Regions from separate parts of the Homo sapiens genome. Here all the other regions are linked to region 1. The links are contacts of gene promoters, found by promoter capture Hi-C in blood cells and fetal thymus (Javierre and others, 2016). All regions are on one chromosome and are shown on one strand. The core of a region is centred on a gene start or on the middle of the fragment in contact, and the rest is flanking DNA. Distances in the headings are between cores, read along the strand shown.

Region 1 (4,446 bases), core at 626-3,125:
AAAAGGTGCTTGCAGGTAACACCGGGGAGGGGACAGAGCGGCCCTTTGCATGCCAAAGTGCCTCATGCCTGTAATCCCAGTGTTTTGTGAGGCCAAGGTGGGAGGATCACCTGCGGCCAGGAGCTGGAGACCAGCCTAGGCAACAGAGTAAGACGCTGTCTCTAAAAATAATTTTTTTTGACATGGGGTCCTGCTGTGTTACCAAGGCTGGAGTGCAGTGGCACAATCTCAGCTCCCTGCAAATTCTACCTCCCAGGCTCAAGCGATCCTCCCGCCTCAACCACCCGAGTAGCTGGGACTACATGTGTGTGCCACCATACCTGGCTAATTTTTGGTATTTTTGGTAGAGACAGGGTTTTGCTATGTTGGCCAGGCTGGTCTAGAACTCCTGAGCTCAAGTGATCCGCCCACCTTGGCCTCCCAAAGTGCTGAGATTATAGGCATGAACCACTGCGCCTGGCCTCTAAAAAGAATTTTAAAAAAGAGGGACCTTTCCTCAAAGACAAGATGCTGCCTGCATGGAAGGATTCCGAGAGACGGGAAGGCCACTCCAGGTGTACATGTGGGGTGGCTCTCCTTGTCCAGGAGATATGGAGGGAAGACTGGCTGCCACCTGGGGGGTGGAGGGGGCAGGGAGATGTGGGTGGAAGACACTTGGAGCCTGGGGCTGTGGAATGAGCCAGAGGGTCTGGGCAGCATGACTGGGCGTCCAGCCACAGGAGAATGGAAGAAATTGGTGAGTGGAACGGTCTGGGCACTGCTAGATCATTCTGGTTTGGGACCACAGTTCAACCCAGGGAAATGGCTGGCCGACTGGCAGGAGTGGGACGCAAGGGAGAGCCTGGTGGCCTCCAAAGGAAGGAAGGGTGAACAAGAGGGATGCCCCATCAGTAAGGGTGGGCTGGGCTCAGGTCTGAGAGTGGAGGTGAAGAGCTCAGGGCAGTGAGGGCTGAGGGTGGCTTCCTGGGAGCCGCCAGGCCTCCCATGCCCCATCGGTGAGGCCCTGCAGATGTCCCCAGAGTGGGTGGGATTGTGGAGGAAACGATGTCTGTCTGCCTGGAGCTGGGTCTTGAGACAGGTCTCCAGGTCTCGAAGGAGCAGCCCAGGAGGGGGTTCAAATCCATCCTTTATGTTCCCAATGCCAACTGTGTGTGCCAGGCCCGGTGGCCCAGGGGGAGGGACAGAGTCTGGGCCTCACACTGGATCCCAGGCAGGGGGTGGGGTGGGGCAGGATGGAGCCCTGTACTTCTGTCAGGTGGCACAGACCCTAGAGGATGCTCCGGGACTGAACCTTGTGGGGTTGCTTTTTTTTTTTTTTTTTTTTTTTTGCTTTAATGAGCAGTCCGAGAAAACAGGTCTTGTAGAATAACGCGATCCCCTCTCTAGAGATGAGCTTTTCTTCCTGGCTGGCCTACTGGACACATTTCCAGAGGGCGGTCTTGGAGTTTGACTTCCTCTAAGCATCTGGGGCACCGGCAATGGCGAGTGTCTCTCTCCAGCAGGCGCACTGGGAGGGGGCCTCCCAGGGGCGCTAGGCTGCATCCCTGTCCCTCCCCCAGGGACGCCCCGGTGTCCGGAACCGGCTGCGCCGCCGACCCTGATCCTCTGGGCGCCGCACCCCGCCAGGGATCCCGCGGGGTGGAGGTCACCAACCCCGGATGGGTAGTGACCGCGCCCGGGCAGCCTACAGTCGTCCCCTTCCCCGCCGAGCGTCCCCGGTCCAATTCCGGCCCCCCCAGCCGCAGGGACCCCGCTCCCCGCGCCAGGCCCCCGCGCCGCCACACTCACCGGAGCTGCCCTCGCCCCGCCCGGCTCGGCTCCCGCTCGGACTGCGTGGCCGCGTGGCCTGTGGCCCAGTGGCCCGGCCGGGGCGCCGAGCGCGGCCCCCTCCCTCCTTCCGCCGGTCGCGCGGGGTCCCCCGGCCCCGCCTCCACCCCGCCCCCGCGGCCGCCGCAGCCGCTGCCAAGGCAACCAGGCGCCGCCAACACGTGACCCACCCGCGGGAGAGCCGCGGCCACGTCACCCGCCGGGCCGGGAGGGGCGGGGCTGGCGGCGCCTCCTCGGAGAGTGGGGGGGTGGGGGTCCCCGCCTCACCTGGAACCACCCCGGGATCGCGCGAGGGAGAGGAGCAGGGGAGGTGGGAAGACCCCGACCCGCGCGCATCCCTCCTGCCCCAGCTCCTGTCCCCGGCCCCAGCTCTGGGAGTCAAGGCGAGGCCCCCCACCGCCCCATCGGGGGTCCGGCTACCCACAGACCACGAGCTGGGCTTTCCCTGCCCCTGGGTCCGGGCGCAAAAGGGGAGCCCCAGGCTTGGCAGGGTGAGCCTCGGGGGGTGCCCAGCATTGGACGCTGGCTGCGTAGAGGGGCGGGGAGTGGGGACAGGGCGGGCGGGTGCAGGTGGGCAGTGGAGGGGAAAGGAAGGTGGGGAGGGGAGAATCCGTCTGGCCACGCCCGAGTTTTCACAGGATTTTTTTTTTTATTTTTTTGAGACAGGGTCTGGCTCTGTCGCCCAGGCTGGACTGCAGTGGTGCGATCACGGTTCAATGCAGCCTCGAATTCCTGAGCTCGAGTGATCCTCTGCCCTCAGTCACCCAAAGTGCTGAGGCTACATGTAGGCAGGAGCCACCACACCGTGGTAGTTTTTAAAAAATTTGTTTTTGTTTGTTTTTTGAGAGGGAGTTTTGCCCTGTCACCCAGGCTGGAGTGCAGTGGTGCCATCTTGGCTCACTGCAACCCCCGACCCCGGGGTTGAAACGATTCTCCTGTCTCAGCCTCCGAGCTACAGGTGCACGCCACTAGCCTGGCTACTTTTTTGTATGTTTAGTAGAGATGGGGTTTCACCATGTTGGCCGGACTGGTCTTGAACTCCTGACCTCAGGTGATCCTGCCTGCCTCGGCCTCCCAAAGTGCTGGGATGATACATGTGAGCCACTGTGCCCAGCCAAAAAAAAAAAAAAAAATTCTTTTTTTAGAGATAGAGTCTTCCTGTATTGCCCAGACTGGTCTTAAACTCCTGGCCTCAAGCAATCCTCTCTTAGCCTCTCAAAGCACTGGGATTACAGGCATGTGCCACAATGTCCAGCTAATTTTTAAATTTTTTAAAAAAATTGAGATGGGTCTTGCTATGTTGCCTCTGCTGGTCTCGAACTCCTGGGCTCAAGTGATCCTCCCACCTCAGCCTCCCAAAGTGCTGGGCATAGAGGCATGGGCCACCTTGCTTGGCCCCTGCCCAGGGTGTTGGATGGCACCATGAAGAGCTTGCACTGAGCTAATTGGGGGTTGCCACCCAGAGTGCACTGCCACTCACAGACCCAGCGAGACCCCTGGGGTCCCAACTTCAGTGCAGCGTGCTGTCCTTCTCATGCTGTTCGCAGACAGCAGCAAAGAGTTTCTGCTGTGCCCTGGCCCCTTCCACTCCCTACTGCAGGGAGCCTCTCACCTTTAACGGTGAATTCTCTGCGGTTTTACGAGCGAGGCAGTCAAACAGGAGCATTCTTTTCAGGAAGTGCAGCACATGAATAATTCACAGACAGACAAGATGGGTTCCTATCAGCCCGGCGGTGCCAGACGGTCCCTTGGAGTCCTTCCTCCATGCCGGGTAGGCTGCTGCGTGCCCTACATAGGATTTTTCCATCTGTCACAACAGCATTGGACCGTGACACATTTATCCAAACGAAGGAAAAATTCCACTCATGTCAGCCAGCCCACATTTTATGACAATTGGAAGAGTAGATGTTACGGACGCCAGGTTAAATCCATCTACACTTCGAGTTGTCTTTTACAGGCTACTGCTGACAGCCAGAATGAAACCAGGAGGACACTTAGTCTAATAAACCAGGTTTCCCCCTCCGGGTTACTGACCTAAAAGGCAAGTTAGGCCCTAACATGGACATAAGCAAATCCCAGGGTTCCTTACTGGCCCTCCTCCTGCCACCCCCATCAATGGCTATGGGTGAGGGAACATTTGAATTTCAGGGGTAAAGTCCTCAAAAAGCAATCATGTTATGGCTTTCCAACGTGGAGTTCTTGGTAAAATGAATCTCGGTGGCTCATGCCTGTAATCCCAGCACTTTGGGAGGCTGATCACCTGAGGCCTGGAGTTCAAGACCAGCCAGGTCAACTGGTAAAACCCCATATCTACTAAAAATACAAAAATTAGCCAGGCATGGTAGCGCACGCCTGTAGTCCCAGCTACTGGGGAGGCTGAGGCAGAAGAATCGCTTGAACCTGGGAGGCGGAGGTTGCAGTGAGCCAAGATCACACCATTGCACTCCAGCCTGGGCCAGAGAGCAAGACTCTGTCTCAAAACACACACACACACACACACACACAAAACAGGAAGAAAACACTTTGTAAACGCAGTAGTTTGCATCATAGATGAATGTGCTTTCAGCAAAGGAGTCCTTTGCTTGTTGAATTCTCACTCTTGCAGCGACTTCACTCATC
Region 2 (4,446 bases), core at 1,920-4,419, 1.9 Mb after region 1:
ATCCCCTCCCCACTCCTCTTCCTATGACCATCATCCCTCTAATTCCCTTCTGTCTCTCCTCAGCGGCTCGCCTAAGTCCAGTGCCTCCCAAGCAGGGGCTGCAGCGGGGCAGGGAGCCCCCGCCCCTGCCCCTGCCTCCCAAGAGCCCCTTCCCATAGCTGGACCAGGTGGGACAGGGATTTTGGGAGGAGGATGGGGCCTGTGTTGGTGAGGGCTGGTTGGGAGAGAGGGACACAGAGGGGATGCCTGTCTCACCTGCCCCTGTCGCTGTGTCCCTGGTTCCGGCCCCAGCGACAGCACCTGCTCCACGGCCACTTGGCTCCATTCAGAGACCAAACAGCTTCCTCTTCCGTTCCTCCTCTCAGAGTGGCTCAGGTGGGTGTCCTGCCCTCCCCAGTGCTGACCCAGTGCTTGCCAGCACCAACGGCTACATCACCCTTCTGCCCTGGGAGCCCTCTGGGTCTGTTGTACCTTTTGTACCTTTGCGTTGAAAATCCCACAAGCAAGCCGGGTGTGGTGGCTCACACCTGTAATCGCAGCACTTTAGGAGGCCCAGGTGGGAGGATCGCTTGAGCCCAGGAATTCAAGACCAGCCTGGGCAACATAGCGAGACCCCATCTCCATGAAATAAAAAAAAATCCCACAAGCAGAGAGGCAGGAGGTGTAGGTGCCAGGCCACTGGGACCCAGCTACAGAGTCAGTGGTGAGCAGTGGAGGCAGCCCCATGCCCCCCTTTTTCTCCTAGGCCCTTCCTCACCAGACTCTGTCCTGAGACCTCGGCGGTACCCCCAGGTTCCAGATGAGAAGGACTTAATGACTCAGCTGCGCCAGGTGAGCAGAGGCGGGAGCTGCGTGGGCAGGGGCCTGGGCCGGGCACCTCCTTGTGTTGCTGTCCTTGGGACCAGCCTCCCTCCACATCCTCTGTGCCCACTCTGGCACCTCCCCTGAGGACAGGAAGGGACAGGCACAAGTTCCCTGCTAGCCCTGAGCCCCCCACTCTCCCTGCCTCCCAGACGCCTCTCCTTCCCTGACCCCTGCTCTATGTGGTCTACACTGCCAGGTCCTTGAGTCCCGGCTGCAGCGGCCCCTGCCTGAGGACCTGGCCGAGGCTCTGGCCAGTGGGGTCATCCTGTGCCAGCTGGCCAACCAGCTACGGCCGCGCTCCGTGCCCTTCATCCATGTGCCCTCCCCTGCTGTGGTCAGTTGGGGCTGGGGAAGAGGTGGGGGATGGGCCGGGGCGCCTGTGGCCTCTCCCTTACCACATTTTCTTCTTTCACCCACCCCAGCCAAAACTCAGTGCCCTCAAGGCTCGGAAGAATGTGGAGAGTTTTCTAGAAGCCTGTCGAAAAATGGGGGTGCCTGAGGTATGGGGGCTGCTTTCTAAAGAGTGGTGGCATGCCGGACTCAGCCGAGCATGTGGCATGGATGGTGGGCTTCCATTTGCAGCGGATGTCTGCTCTCAGATGAAGGCACAGGCTGCCCCTGCCCTGCCCAGCATGCCCCCTGCCCTGCATGCCCCCTGCCCTGCATGTCACCTGTCCTACACATCCCCTGCCCTGCAGGCCCCATCTTGTCCTGCATGTCACCTGTCCTGCACATGCCCTGCCCTGCACTCCTCCTGCACTGCACTCCCCCTGCCCAGCACGTCAGCATGTGGGCGTGGTTCTGGCCCCAGCACGTGAGGGCAGGGGTGGGAGGGACTGTCCTGCTGCTGCTGCTGACGTCTGTCCCTTGTCCTTGTCCACCTGCTCTCCTCTCCCCCAGGCTGACCTGTGCTCGCCCTCGGATCTCCTCCAGGGCACTGCCCGGGGGCTGCGGACCGCGCTGGAGGCCGTGAAGCGGGTGGGGGGCAAGGCCCTACCGCCCCTCTGGCCCCCCTCTGGTCTGGGCGGCTTCGTCGTCTTCTACGTGGTCCTCATGCTGCTGCTCTATGTCACCTACACTCGGCTCCTGGGTTCCTAGGCCCCAAAATCGGCCCTCCCTCACCCCTTTCCCTTCCTCTCTATTTATAAGGTCCCTGCTCCACCCGACCCCACCTGCGGTGCCTTCAGCCCCAACCAAAGACACTAGTGCACCCCCTTCACAGACACTGACCTCAGAGGCCCCACTCTGGTGCCCCCAGACCCTGGGCCCCCAGCCTCTGGCCTCCCTCCAGTAGCCCCACGAGTCCCCACCTCTCAGTGCTGACGGTGCCTTCATGTCCCCGCCGGCCCTGCCCCTGCCCTCTGTACCCCGTGAGGGGTGGCAGGAGCTGGAGTCTCCCCCTTCCTCCTGTGCCCTCCCCTTCCCCCCCCAACAGCTGCTATGGGGGGGCTAAATTATCTCTATTTTGTAGAGAGGATCTATATTTGTAGGGGTTCGGGGCCCAGGCCGGGTCCCTATCTCTGTGTATAAACTGTACAGACCGTGGCCGCCCTGCCTGTGTGTGTGTGTGTGCGCGCGCGCGCGCGTCTGCTCCGCGTGTTGGTGGCTGTGGCCATGGCTCTGTGCCCACCAGCATCTCCCTCCTGAGATGCCGGCCTCTCATGCTCCCGGAGCGTCCGCCAACCCCCCGTGTCACCTCCCTTCTGTTATCGCTGACAGCTTTCTTGCGTCTCATTTGTCGCCGAGCCCCGAGCGCACGGTGATGCTCGGGTCTGCCCCCGACCCCCTGCCACAGGCCGGAAGCCGCAGGGGGCACCGTGGGGAAGCTAACCCGGCCCCTTCCCCCAGGAGTCACTGTGCCAGCCCCACCACATCCTGGAAGAGGAGGGGGCCCCGGGAAGGGGCCTCCCCTACATCGCTGCTGTCGTCCACGCCCTGCTGGACCGGCCTTAGGGGTGAAGGTGGGGGCACAGGGCCCACCCCGCCCGGGACCCCGGGAGCAGAAGACGCGCCTGGGCTCCGCGCTCTCAGAGAAGCACGTGGTGAGGGTGGCCTGGGCCTGGGCACCCTTGGCCTGCCGGCCTGGCTGCCTCTGGGGTCGAGGGTCTGGGTGGAAGGACCGCGGGTGTCGCAGGTGTCGTGTCAGCCGCAATAAACAGAAGCCAGAAGCCCTCTGGGTGGCCCTCAGGTGTAACTGTGTCTGAGAGCACGTGCGTCGCGGGGTTGTTGGGGGGGCCTCTGTTTCCGGAATTCACCGCCCAGTCGCCAGGGGGCGCCCGCGGGAGCCCGGCGGGGGCACGCGCCACGTGGCCGGGAGACGCACAGGGCGCCAGCGTCGCCGCGAGGCCTCTGGGGTGGGTTCGCCAGGAGGGCACGTTCGCGCCGCGCCGCGGAGGGAGGCTGAGAGGGCCGGGCCGGGCGGCGGGGACACGGCGGTACCGTCCTGCGCTCGGGAACGCGGAATGTTGCCCTGGTCGCCGCCGCGGTGGGGCGCGGGCCCGGAGGAGGCGCCCGAGGGACCAGGCCTTCCGGCGGGCAAGGACCAGGGCGAGCCCTGGAGCGCCGGAGCGGACGCCCCCAGGGAGCTGGGGACACCCCCATGGGACAGGTGAGGGGCTCGGACGGAGCCGTGGGGGGACAGCGACTGGGGGCCTCCATGCCTTCACCACGCGCTCTACGGAGGCTTCTCCATTGTCCCTGCTGGAGATTGGGTCCCTCGGTCTCCCTTGCACCAGGCACCCTTGGGCTCCAGGGGAGGGTGCGTGGGGGCGGTGTGGCTGCAGCCTCAGTCCCTGCCCCTCCAGCCCACAGCCCCCATCCCGTAGCCCTTCCTGGATCTGGAGAGAGCAGCTGCTGCTGCCCCACCACCTGCCAGGCCCGGCCACTGAGCAGCCCCCCGGAGCCCCAGGTAGGACAGGCCCTGCTGCCTCTACTACCCCTAAGAGCCTCTCACTGACTGTGAGCCTGTTATAATCCCCAAGCGTCCCCCCAGATCCCCGTTCCCCCCAGGTGGCCTGGGAGGTGGCCCCCTCGAGGATGACTCCACTAGCGCCCTGGGACCCCAAGTATGAAGCCAAAGCAGGACCTCGGCCGGTGTGGGTGAGTTGGGGGCAAACCTGTGGGACTGGCTGGGGTGCTCAGGGAGCTGTGCGGTGGCCTGAGGCTCCAGTGCTCTGTCCTCCTCACCCTAGGGGGCCAACTGTAGCTCAGGAGCCTCGTTCTCAGGCCGGACGCTGTGTCACCCCTCATTCTGGCCGCTGTATGAAGCAGCCTCGGGCAGGGGTCTCAGGCCCGTGGCCCCTGCCACAGGGCACTGGAATGGACAGCAGGCGCCCCCAGATGCAGGTACCTCCCTTGGTCCCCCGGGGGCGCAAGGCTGCCCCAACTCCTCTGGGAACCAGTGCCCAGGGGTGGGAGCCCGCAGCCCGCCACCCTAGTGGTGTTTCCTCCTAGGGTTCCCGGTGGTGTGCTGTGAAGATGTCTTCCTCTCGGACCCTCTGCTGCCCCGGGGGCAGCGTGTTCCCCTGTACCTGTCCAAGGCCCCCCAGCAGGTGAGAGCTCTTTCCCCTCCCTGTCCTTACC
Region 3 (4,446 bases), core at 927-3,426, 1.1 Mb after region 1:
TTCAGCCATGACTGTATATTTCTTCCCAGCATGAAACATCCCTGTCTCCTTGTTATTAAGGAATTAGCCAGAAATCATCTTGGAGTCCTCTGATTTGGTAAATATCAAGGAGAAAAAAAGAACTAGGAGCTGTCTTTTAGCTTTGATAGGCAGAGCAGTATGCTAGAAAACACCAGATCTGGGCCTGGCGTGGTGGCTCACGCCTGTAATCCCAGCATTTTGGGAGGCCGAGGCAGGAGGATCTCTTGAGGCCAGAAGTTTGAGACCAGCATGTGTAACACAGTGAGATCCCACCTCTACAAAAAATCAAAAAATTAGCCAGTCATGATGGTGTACACCTGTGATCTCAGCTACACAGGAGGCCAAGGTCGGGGGATCACTTGAGCCTGGGAGATCAGGTTTGCAGTGAGCTATGATCGCACCACTGCATTCCAGCCTGGGGAGCAAGCAAGACCCTATATTAAAAAAAAAAAAAAAAGAAAGAAAGCACAAGAGGTCAGTCCTGAGTGGCTCCTAGGCCTAGCAAATCCTGAGCCTCTGTTTCTTCAGCTAAAGGAAAGATACTACTCTAATGTTTTAACCCTAGGGTTGTTAAGGATCAAAAGAAATGGAGATTGGGAGGCCAAGGCGGGAGGATCGCTTGAGCCCAGGAGTTTGCGACAAGCCTGGGCAACAGAGTTGAGATTCTGCCTCTGCAAAAAAAAAAAATTAAAATATAAAAAAGAGACGGAGGGAACAGACACAGGTAGTGCATTCCAGAGCGCTGTCATAGCTGTGTAGGTTGTAGTTATCACTAAATGAGAAAAGCTAAATTCAAGCGAGTTATGCAAACGAGGCGTTTGGCAACTTTTACTTGCATGCTTATGGTTTTCTGGGGAAATTCAAATGCGGGCTCCGGAGCCGCAGCCCTGAGCGTCCCGGGGGTGGCCATGGCGCCACCTGCCGGCCGAGAGGAAGGAGACGCCTGGCGGGTCCCGGCGCCCGGGCCCGGTGACCCTGCGCCCTCTCCAACCCCGCCACGGAGCCACCCGATCCCAGCCGGTTCCACGTCCCGGGGTGGCTGGGGAGTCGCAGCCGAGGATCCTCCGCGGCCTCAGCCCCAAAGACTGGGCGGGAATGACCCCTCTGGTGTCCTGGGGCCGCTGATAGGAGAGGGGTGCCCGGGACGCGAGGCCTTGGCCACCCGAGAACCTGCTCCGCGACACAAAGCCGCAGCCGCGCAGGTGAGCGGCAGAGCCACGTGAGCGGCCGAACGCCCCGGGCAGAGCCCCAGCCCCAGCCACGGCGGTCGGAACCACCTCTACTCGGAGCCCGGAACGAGGGGGCGAAGGTTGGGGAAGCGAAGAAAGGAAGGGACAGGGTGGGCGCGGCCAGAGACCACCGCAGCCCCGGAGCCGGACCCGAACCTTCAGCCCCCGCAACCCCGCAGCCCCGCAGCCCCGCGGCCCCAACCCCCAGCCTCCTCCATCGCTCGTTCCAGCTGCCCCGTCTGCAGCCCCCAACCCCCGCCGCCCCGCGCCCCAGCCCCCAATCGCCCTGCACCCAAGGCCCTTCGGTCTTTCCCCCCGTGACCCCAACCCCCAGCCACCGCCATTTCGTCCCAGTTGCCCCGTGTCCCCTGCCCCTGGCATCCGCCACCCCGCGCCCCCAGGCCCGAATCGCCCCGCACCCCAACCCCCTCCAGCTCTCGTTCCAGCTGCCCGGTGTCTGCAGCCCCCAGTCCCCGCTGCCCTGCGCCCCCAAGTCCCGGATCGCCCCGCTCTCCAGCCCCCAAGCCTCGCTCCAGCCACCCAGTGGCCAGGGCCCCCGCTGTCCGCTCCCTCCCCCCACCCCCCGGCCCCTCGGCCCCGAGCTACTCACCGGCGGCTCGCGTAGCCGCTGCCAGGGGAGCCGGCGCCGGGCTCGGGGTAGCCGTGCTGCTGCAGAGCTGCGGCCGAGAAGGGATAGAGGAAGCCGGTGGCCAGCGCCGACCCGCAGAGGCAGCAACACGCCCAGGGCAGGAGCAGGGCCAGCTTCATCGTGCGCAGCAGCCCGCGGGGACCCGGAGTCCCGGGCACGAGGACCGGCAGGAGCGCACCGGCGCCCGGACCGAACCCGCGGCACCGGCCGGGAGCACAGCGAGAGGAGCGGGGCGAGCGGTCGGAGCCCGGGTGCGAGCTGGAAATGTGTGGGGGGCGCCCACGCCTCTCCGGGGCCGCCTTTTCAAATTCGGCGAGGTGGGCTCTAAGCCGTCAAAGGGGGCGTGGGGCTTTTTTGTTAACCCTCGGCGGTCCGGGGCCGAGGAGGCGGCAGTGGCGGCAGAGCTAGGGTGCGAGCTCCGCAGGAGGTCCCTGGAGCCTAACACCCCGAAAGCCAGACCTCGCGCCCAGGCCCCCGCTACACACCTTAGAACCTTTGAAACCAAACCTTCTTCGGGTCCGCGAATGCTTTCGGAGCGCCCATTCTGTGTCTGCCAATTTCACCTGGACGATGTTGGTGAATCCTCGCCACACTGCCCTCGATGGTCCCATTCAGAAGTGGAAACTGAGGCTGGAGAAAGTTAAGCCAGACAAATGCGAGTCTTCCGATCCTTGTGCAGGGCTCTTTGGATCAAAGCGCTGCGTTCCCGTGAGAAACTGACCAGAGCTTCCCAGGATTCTCCTCCTTCCCCTTTAACCTCCAGCCCCCACCTGCCCCGCTGTCTCTTCCAGGTAAGAAGCTTTGGGAGGGGCGGAAGGGTCAGTTGGGGTGAGAAGTTGTAGCTAGATTGGGAGGCCGAGGTGGGCGGATCACCTGAGGTCAGGAGTTCGAGACCAGCCTGGCCAACATGGTGAAACCTCGTCTCTACTAAAAATACAAAAATTAGCCTAGTGTGGTGGCAGGTGCCTGTAATCTCAACTACAGGCTGGGCTGAGGCAAGCCAATCACTTGAACTCAGGAGGCGGAGGGTGCAGTGAGCCAATATCAGGCCACTGGCCTCCAGCCTGGATGACAAGGTGAGGCTCCATCTCAAAAAAAGAAAAAAGTTGTAGCTAGAATCACAGATTCATGAGACATCCTATCCAGAAAAGGGCTTCAGGAAGATGTAGGACAATCCCACCTTTTATAAACAGAAAAGCAGAGTCCTAGATCCCATGCTGGGCCCAAGGCCAGCCTGGACCCAAGTTTTGGTCTTTTCTATGTTGCAGGATTCCCATAGGGCTTGGACCCTGCTCCAGGCCCAGGTGGGACCAGAAATCCAGCCCGTACTCTACTCGCCCGGGTTAGGAGCATTTTGTTCCTTTTTTTTTTTTTCTTTTTCTTTTTTTTTTTTTTTTGAGTTGGAGTCTCGCTCTGTCACCCAGGCTGGAGTGCAGTGGTGCGATCTCGGCTCACTGCAACCTCTGCCTCCCGGGTTCAAGTGATTCTTCTGCCTCAGCCTCCCGAGTAGCTGGGATTACAGGCAAGCAATACCATTTCGGGTTAATTTTTGTATTTTTAGTAGAGACGGGGTTTCGCCATGTTGGCCAGGCTGGTTTCGAACTCCTGACCTCAGGTGATTCACCCACCTCCGCCTCCCAAAGTGCTGGGATTACAGGTGTGAGCCACCTAGCCCGGCCTGGGAGCTTTTTTCCTAATTCTTCCAAAAGCAACCTAAGGGTGCAGATGCCCTGAGGCTTGCTCTGCCCCTGTGACCAGTTGAAAACTCCTGTCTGTAAAATGCCTACAGGATGGAGAAAAACCATCAAATATGGAAGTGTTTGCTGGACTGGAGCACATTTTGCAAAAGGATTGTAGAGGCCAGTGGCAATGGCTCACTTCAGTAATCCTAATCCTTTGGAAGCCGGGCACAGTAGCTCACGCCTGTAATCCCAGCACTTTGGGAAGTTGAGGTGGGCAGATTACTTGAGGTCAGGAGTTCAAGACCAGCCTGGCTAACATGGTGAAACCCTGTCTCTACTAAAAAAATAGAAAAAATTAGCTGGGCGTAGTGGCATGCACTTGTAATCCCAGCTACTCAGGAGGCTGAGGCAGGGGAATCGCTTGAACCCGGGGTTGCAGTGAGCTGAGATCATGCCACTGCACTCCAGCCTGGGGGACAGAGTGAGACTCCGTCTCAAAAAACAAAACAACAAAGACCTAATGCTTTGGGAGGCTGAGGCGGGAGGATTGCTTAAGGCCAGGAGTTCGAGGCCAGCTTGGACAACATAGTGAGACCCCCCCATCTCTACAAAAAAAAAAAAAAAGCAAAGCGTGGAGGTGTGTGCCTGTAGTCCCAGCTACTCAGGAGTCTGAGGCAGGAGGATTGCTTGAGCCTAAGGGTTCAAGGCTGCAGTGAGCCATGATGGTGCCATGACACTTCAGCCTGGGTTACATACTGAGCCTGTCCTTCTCCCCTCAAAGAAGGATTGTAGGATTGTTGTTAGAAGACGACAGGAAGATGGCCAAGCATGGTGGCTCACGCCTGTAATCCCAGCACTTTGGGAG

What was found. The method cuts DNA at HindIII sites, captures the fragments that hold promoters and counts their contacts. A CHiCAGO score of 5 or more calls a contact.
Region 2: a contact is called between the fragment with the promoter of SAP25 here and the fragment with the promoter of ORAI2 in region 1, in 1 of 17 cell types (M0 macrophages). The highest score is 5.1, in M0 macrophages.
Region 3: a contact is called between the fragment with the promoter of COL26A1 here and the fragment with the promoter of ORAI2 in region 1, in 3 of 17 cell types (M0 macrophages, M2 macrophages and M1 macrophages). The highest score is 11.5, in M0 macrophages.

What each region holds. Positions count from the first base shown.
Region 1 is chr7:102,431,004-102,435,449 of GRCh38, reverse strand. ORAI2 (ORAI calcium release-activated calcium modulator 2) reads right to left here and starts at 1,875. Exons shown (of 4, transcript NM_001126340.3): 1 at 1,789-1,875. RefSeq lists silencers at 1,466-2,245, 2,276-2,415, 3,814-4,108. The HindIII fragment of the contact is 6,966 bases long and covers 1-4,446 here.
Region 2 is chr7:100,572,623-100,577,068 of GRCh38, reverse strand. It overlaps SAP25 (Sin3A associated protein 25), which reads left to right and starts at 3,169. Exons shown (of 6, transcript NM_001348680.2): 1 at 3,169-3,472; 2 at 3,669-3,772; 3 at 3,857-3,963; 4 at 4,056-4,209; 5 at 4,318-4,415. The coding sequence starts at 3,327. It overlaps LRCH4 (leucine rich repeats and calponin homology domain containing 4), which reads left to right. Exons shown (of 18, transcript NM_002319.5): 13 at 64-167; 14 at 292-375; 15 at 746-831; 16 at 1,061-1,198; 17 at 1,287-1,364; 18 at 1,765-3,058. The coding sequence ends at 1,962. RefSeq lists enhancers at 1,197-1,750, 1,751-2,305. The HindIII fragment of the contact is 23,848 bases long and covers 1-4,446 here.
Region 3 is chr7:101,360,605-101,365,050 of GRCh38, reverse strand. It overlaps COL26A1 (collagen type XXVI alpha 1 chain), which reads right to left and starts at 2,176. Exons shown (of 13, transcript NM_001278563.3): 1 at 1,861-2,176. The coding sequence starts at 2,018. RefSeq lists a silencer at 803-1,042. The HindIII fragment of the contact is 2,872 bases long and covers 1-2,700 here.